2 separate regions of the Homo sapiens genome follow, and region 1 is linked to region 2. The links are contacts of gene promoters, found by promoter capture Hi-C in blood cells and fetal thymus (Javierre and others, 2016). All regions are on one chromosome and are shown on one strand. The core of a region is centred on a gene start or on the middle of the fragment in contact, and the rest is flanking DNA. Distances in the headings are between cores, read along the strand shown. Region 1 overlaps LOC107984113 (a long non-coding RNA gene). Region 2 holds the start of WDR17 (WD repeat domain 17).

The links. Contacts are between HindIII fragments. The CHiCAGO score rates a contact against its expected background, and 5 or more counts as called.
Region 1: a fragment that was not itself captured here is called in contact with the fragment with the promoter of WDR17 in region 2 in 2 of 17 cell types (total B cells and naive B cells); the score reaches 7.9 in total B cells.

Annotation. Positions count from the first base shown.
Region 1 is chr4:175,951,302-175,954,803 of GRCh38, reverse strand. All of the region lies in intron 2 of LOC107984113 (a long non-coding RNA gene), which reads left to right. It also overlaps a transcript of GPM6A not described here. Among named protein-coding and RNA genes, the nearest start is that of WDR17, 110 kb to the left of the region's middle. The HindIII fragment of the contact is 3,267 bases long and covers 398-3,502 here.
Region 2 is chr4:176,063,527-176,067,273 of GRCh38, reverse strand. WDR17 (WD repeat domain 17) reads right to left here and starts at 1,433. Exons shown (of 29, transcript NM_181265.4): 1 at 1,195-1,433. RefSeq lists a silencer at 1,178-1,557. The HindIII fragment of the contact is 5,440 bases long and covers 1-2,579 here.

The DNA of each region.
Region 1 (3,502 bases), core at 782-3,281, 110 kb after region 2:
GCCCTAGATATGTAGAAAATACTCCAAGTCCAAATCATGTTTAAGACCCATGGAAAAGACAGATATGAGGCCCTGTGAAAGGGATGTAGCTGGACTACAAAGGCTAAGACACGGGTGCAACCTCACTGAAAGGAAAACAGAAATGATGACTTCCATTGTCTCTCCAGAGATGGTCTAACTCATCATCTCAGATTCACTCCTCTTTAGACCTCTTAAGACTTTTGCTTTGGCTTGACTCTTCGGGTGGAAAAATGATAGACAAAACTCAGTGTGGTATATATTATTTGCTAGCCACTGTCCTCAGTACTCTACACATTTTAATTAAAACTCTAATAGTGTTTTCATTTTTCAGGTGAGGAAACTGGGGCACAGAAAGACAAGGAAACTCATTTAAGCTTACACAGTTCTAAAGTGCTTGAGCCGGGTTTCGCACTGATACAACCTAGCCACGGGGGCCACACCCTTAGCCACTAGAGCTGTGCTGTCCAGTAGAACTCATGGAGATGATGAAAACGTTCTAGATCTCTGTTGTACAATACCAGAGCCTTAGCCACAAGTGACTGTTGAGCACCTGGATTGTGAACAGCACAACTGAGCAAAGGCATTTACATTTCATCTAATTTTAGTTTATTCAAATTGAAATAGCCACATGTGACTAGTGTCTACCTTCTCAGACAGCTCAGCCCTAGACTATACTGCCCTCTAGGAAAAGTCAAGGTATAGAGCGGGCCAGGAAGAAAAGCTAAGGACATGTAATTGAACAAATTTCTATCACCCAGTGATCAGTGCTGTCAGCATTTCTCAGGACTGTAAAAAAAAGATGTTTTTTAAACCAACTGGGTTAACATTTCTAACTCAATTTTAATAGTTCCCATGGTAGTTATTTTATTTTATTTTATTTTTTGATATGGAGTTTTGCTCTTGTTGCCCAGGCTGGAGTGCAATGGCACGATCTCGGCTCATCACAACCCCCACCTCCCGGGTTCAAGCAATTCTCCTGCCACAGCCTCCGAAGTAGCTGGGACTACAGGCATGTGCCACCATGCCTGACTAATTTTGTATTTTTAGTAGAGACGGGGTTTCTCCATGTTGGTCAGGCTGGTCTCGATCCCGACCTTAGGTGATCCGCCCACCTCGGCCTCCCAAAGTGCTGGAATTGCAGGTGTGAGCCACTGCGCCCGACCTCCATGGTAGTTTTTATATACATTATAAGTCTGCCATGTGTCCTGCAGAACTCAAAGTTGTGTAATGTGTCATAATAAACAAAGCAATAATACTATATTAACTAAAAATAATGACATGCAAATATCAATTAAATCCCTGCCATACACTGCTTTACAGGCAATTGGCTACTCTTTTTGTGGTTAGAAAGTGCATTCTTCCTAATTCTTTGTACTACATATCTTAAAATGGATACAGTTTAGGTCTGCAAATGCTATTTCCGGAGTCATTTTCACATCTATTACACAAATTACTTTCCCTTAGACTACTTCTCTGTGGAAAATTGTCATGATACAGCCGAGGTTCCAACACAGTGTATTTATAGGTTTTTCAGCTTCAAAAACTATCAAATTCTTGGAACAGTTTGATATAGAATAAAATTTCCCTGCCCTTTGATTTCTTTATTTGTTTTATAAAATTTAGGATTTTAGATATGTAGAATGCATGCATGCTCTATTCTTGAATCAAAGTAGAACATTCCCATTATTTAACTTTTAAGGCAAGGGGATTTCTGTTTTTCTTTTCTTTTTCTCTCCTTTTTTTTTTTTTTTTAAAAACAGGGTCTTGTTCTGTCGCCCACACTGGAGAGCAGTAGTGTGATCTTGGCTCACTGCAGCCTCTACCCACTGGGGTCAAGCAATCCCAAGTAGTCAGGACCACAGTCATGCGCCACCATGCCTAGCAAATTTTTATATTTTTAGTGGAAATGGGGTTTTGCCATGTTGCTCAGGCTGGTCTTGAACTGTGGGGCTCAAGGGATCCTCCCATCTCAGCCTCCCAAAGTGCTGAGATTACAGGCCCAAGTTCCCATGCCCCCACCGGATTTCTGCTTTCTTTGGGCATTGTAATACACCAGGACTGGACTCATTGGTGGACAGGATGGCTCATTATCTATTTTATTATATGATTTTGTGGGCTCTGGGACAAAATGTATTACAAAAATTTTCAGGAAAGATGTACACAAAAATATCTCTGGAATGAGTGAATGGATTAATGCTTTCTAATATTCCTAGTTACATGTTGCTTAAATGGAAGAATTTAAAATTTTTTCTTACAACAATCCTTACCCTAAGAAGGTGGAGGTACTGTAGCCTCCGCTCCTTGTTACAATGGGCAACTGGGAAAATAACTGAATAATATGTTAATTCCATTGCTTTGGGGACATCCATTCTGAGATCACTACCTTAAGCTACAATCCATCATGGGAATCCATTATGCAGCTTAGAACTCCACTAGACTCCTTGGACATCTAGCTTTGAAGTGTACATAGAAACGAACTTCTCCTAGCTTCTTAAGGAATATAGTATCTTAACTTGAATATTTCAAACATAAAAGAATGTTCTCAAAAGTCAAAGACTCTCAAGAGTCAAACAGATTTTTGACTCTTGAAAAGGAAAGTTTAGTTACTTGTCTCTGAGGTATTTGTTTTAGTTACTTGTCTCTGAGATATTTGGTCACCTGGGCCTTGTAATATCACTGTATTAGTCATGGTTCTGCAGAGAAAGAGAATCAGCAGAATGTGTGTCTGTGTGGAAGGAGATTTATCATAAGGAATTGACTCACATGATTATGGAGGCTGGTGAGTCCAAAGTCTGCAGCATGGCTGCCAGCAGGCTGCAAGCCCAGGAGAGCCGATGGTGTAGGGAAAGTTGGAAGGTAGACTGCTGGAGAATTCCCTCTTGTTCAGAGAAGCTGGTCTTTTTTTTTCTATTCAGGCCTTCAAGTGATTGAATGGGGCCCACCTCATTATGCAGGGCAATCTGCTTATGAAAAGTTTACCAGTTTAAGTCTTATCTCATTCACAAACACGCTCCGCATTAACCAATACCATTAACTACCCAGGTAATATAAATGTGAAGAAGCCTTGACTTGTATAAAGCTATATAATTCTGGGATAAATCCAGATATTTTTTCAGAAAATTGTTGCAATTCATTCATATTTCTTATTAGCTATTACTTATTAACTGTGCGTATTCTAGTTGCTTTAAATGCCTAAAGCCTCATTGCTTCAACAGCCTTTCAAGGTAGATGGTATTCCCCTCATTTTTAGTTAAGGACACTGAAGCCTCAAGAGATTATTTCGCCGTCAGAGGTAATGAGGATGGAATCCAGAAATTTCGGACTTATAGGCCAGTGCTTGTCCAACTCTATCCTCTCTCTTTCCTTTTCTGTCTGTTCATGGCCTAATCATATGGACATCATGGGAATCAATATCTATTTTTACTGTTTTATCTCCATCTTCACTTCTATATCCACAGATTTAAAAAATCATAATGTATGG
Region 2 (3,747 bases), core at 184-2,683:
AAAGCACTTAATAACTATATTTAATTTTAGATGATAGGAGGGGAAAGGTTCTCAGACCACCTATCTCAGACGTCTGCCTTCAAAACAGTTAGATATAACTATATCCATTTTCTTGAACACTTAGGCCAGTGAGGCAGAATCTCAAAAGGATGTAAGAGTGCTTTCTCCACAGAGTTTGTTTCACCACCCGCCCAGCATCAGCTCCTGGCAAGCAGGGTAATGATAAGGCATAAATCTACAAATAAATTAATGCTTAAACTCTTGTGGAGTTCAAATTTATAAATTCTCATAAATTCATTGTCATTTATTTTCTAATTTTTACAACGCAGAAATGTTATTAGAGTGCTAAGAACGGCAACTATAATCTCACATTGTTGGGCTTTGGCCGTTTCGTATCCTTTTACAACGAACTTGTGTTTTTTTGATAGTTTTCTCTAAAGGGTATTTATGAAAGATTCAGAAATGTAGTATCTCTCTTCAAACCCTTGTTAAATATATATAGTATATATGTATATATTAATATGCAAAATAATTTATTTTTGATGCATGGTCGGACTTTTCATTACTTTTCATTCGAATCAATTGCTTTTAATTAATATATTTAAAAAGTCTCCTTAAATTGTTTGTTCCTTTCAATCTTTGCAAGCAAAACAAGTCTGATTTTGGAGAGGGGAGGACAGCAAAGATTCTATTTTACGATCTACTTAATAAATAGTATACCTGCCTTATATCCAATACCGTCTTTTTTCTGGAACGCATTTCCTTTTTACTCAAACCTTTCTTAGTACAACCCTACTAATAAGTCCATCTTCAAAGGGGTAAATGATCTATACAGAAGTGTCTGGCCGGCGGAGGGATGAGAACAGCAACCTAGGCTCTAGACATATACTTAATAGCCATAAAAATAAAACAATGTCCCTCGAAATGTCCACAGTTTACACTGCAATGGTAGTTTAGATACATAAATATTCGCTGCTTGCTGTGCCTTGTAAGAATCAGGTGTGTGGCTCTAAAACTCAGTTGATTATCTCATCAGGCACCATGGTGTGCAAAGCCCTGCAGGACGTACATTACCCTGGTCCGCGATCACAGGGAGGTCAGAGCCCCTCTCGCATGACGCCGCGACAGTTCCAGCATCACCCACATCAATCCTGAGCTTGCCTTGGTATCTCTGCGGCCCCACCGGCTTCTTACCTGGAGGAGGAGGCGGCTGCAGCGGCGGACAGCGGAAGGTGCTGAAGCCGGCGGGCGCAGCTGCGAGGCGAGCACCACCAACGCGCGGACCCTCCCCGCCCTCCCCGCCTGCTCGCTCAGGGCGCCCGGGGGCGGGGCGGCCGGGCCCGCGGGCTCCGAGGGGCGGGAAGCGTGCTCCGCAAGCCCCAGCGCGGAGCCACGATGGAAGGCGCCGCGAGCCCGATCTCCAGGGTCTGCCCCAGAGGCCCACGTGACAGCTACACAGGTCGCTGATTGGAGCGCCCGAGAGGGGGAGGCGGAAGTGGCTCGTGACCCTTGGAGACTAGGCTGAGGGAGAAGTGGTTACCTGGCAACAGAGAAAGTGTGTTGAAGGCGCAGCTCCTCCGTACTGGAGCGAGGCTTTGGGCAGAGGGTTTGCACTGAGGCTGAAAGTGGAGGAAAACGGTGAACCATCAGCGTTCTCACCACCTAACACATTTTATAGCGAGTCTGCACTTTCTAGGAAAATGAGTCAAATATACAGTAAGTCAGTCATCCTGTCTCTTTCTTGAGGGACCTGGAGGAGGGACTTGAACCAGTGCCTGGAATGTGAGTGCAGAATGCTGTCTCGCCTGCACTTCATTATTGTCTGATTGGGCCCAAGAAGGTCTGTGGGAGAGCTCAATGGATAAGATTATTTGTTTATATTAATCGAGTTGTATGTGGTTAATGTATCTGCCTTCACAAAACTGACATTTTCCCTGTGGGATCTGGTTGAATGGAAGTGCTGGATGTTGTCATTCCTACTGGATTCTTCACATCTCTGAAATATCTTCACTACCTGTGGCCTTTATCCAACACACTAGAGAGAATAAGCCTCGACGTACTCGAAACAAAGTGTATTTAATGACATCTATCGAGAATTAATTATACTCCACTCTAAATAGTTAATAAATGAATGGTCGACCTCAACCAGAGAAAGTCCCTGGGCCTAATTCTTACCTTCCTATGCAGTAGATTTTAATGCTCCTTTTTTCCAAAATATTCTCTGCAGAGACGAGTACCTACCACAGCACTCAATATTCTATATTGTAAATTAAAATTAACTTAAATGTTGGATTTCCATATAAAGAATAAACTTGTTAAAGCTAAAATCAGTTCTTACAACTCCGTCCCCTATATTCTAACAAAGTATCTGATGAATAGCAGGTCTTCAATTAATTCTTGATGGATAGATGGATAAAGAAAGAAAGAAATTAGCACATAATCTACCAGAGAAAGTATAAGGGCAATAACTAAATATAACTCAATGTGTTAAGTACTAAAATAGGGTTACATAAAAGTGCTATGAGATGATTTCAGATGAGGGAGGCAGAACTTTTTCTTCCAAGGTATTCAGAGAAGCTTTCAATATGATTAGTATTTGAGCAGGGACTTATAAATAGGTAGAATTTCACCTGATAAAAAGGGGAAAGTGTATACTATGCAGCAGGAGCAGCATTGCCAAAAGCATAAAGTGGGAAAAAATAAACGATTGATGTAAATAAATTTGATGTTTTTGCCTTCTCCGGAGTTGGGGATGTGAATCCAAAGATAAGAAGGAAGATGGAAATTGGCAAAAGACTGTACTAGAAAAATAAGAAAACTTGATTGGGAAAGATGCAGAATTCTATATATGGGTTAGGCTTTAACCTCTAAACCAAAGGAAGAGATTGAAGTTTATAAAATCAGTGCTTTTTCATCAAGAAAGACACCTTGGAAACATTGGAGATACATGGGATGCAGGAAGATGAAGAACATGGTCTGTTAGGAGAAAAATTCAGTAGTTCATGGGAAAAGATGCTGATGACCTGAGTTAAGACAATGAAAATAAGAATAGCGAAGAGGGAAAATCACAAGAAACATTTCTGTGAAAACAGACTATAGTTTTCATTTATGACTGATATTTGCTAGGTATAGTGCTGAATAGTCAATGGTGTACATGAAGAGAAAATGCTGAAGATACAACGTCTAGCTTAGTCCATCGGTTGGACGGAAAAAATCTTTTATGTTTATTTTGCTCATAATGGCTCCAGCTCTCCAGTTAAGAAACAAAAAACCGGCCGGGCGCGGTGTTTCACTCCCGTAATCCCAGCACTTTGGAAGGCCGAGGTGGGCGGATCACCTGAAGTCAGGAGTTTGACGGCAGCGTGGTGGTGAAACCCCGTTCCTACTAAAATACAAGATGAGCTGGGCGTGGTGGCGGGCACCTGTACTTCCAGGTCCTCGGCAGGCTGAGGCAGGAGAATGGCGTGAACCCAGAAGGCGGAGATTGCGCCACTGCACTTTAGCCTGGGTGACAAGAGTGAGACTCCGTCTCAAAAAAAAAAAAGAAAAAAAAGAAAAAGGAAAAAGAAAGAAACATAAAATTGAATGAGACAACTGAAATTATCTAGTTGTGCACTCATAATTTAAAGATGAAGGTGTTTAAATCTCCAGTCATATTAGCAGCAGATTTTGATAGAGTGATCCCGGTCTCCCAGTTCAGGACTCTTATTCCTTTACCAGAATTTAGTTCATTCCTTTTGAACAGAT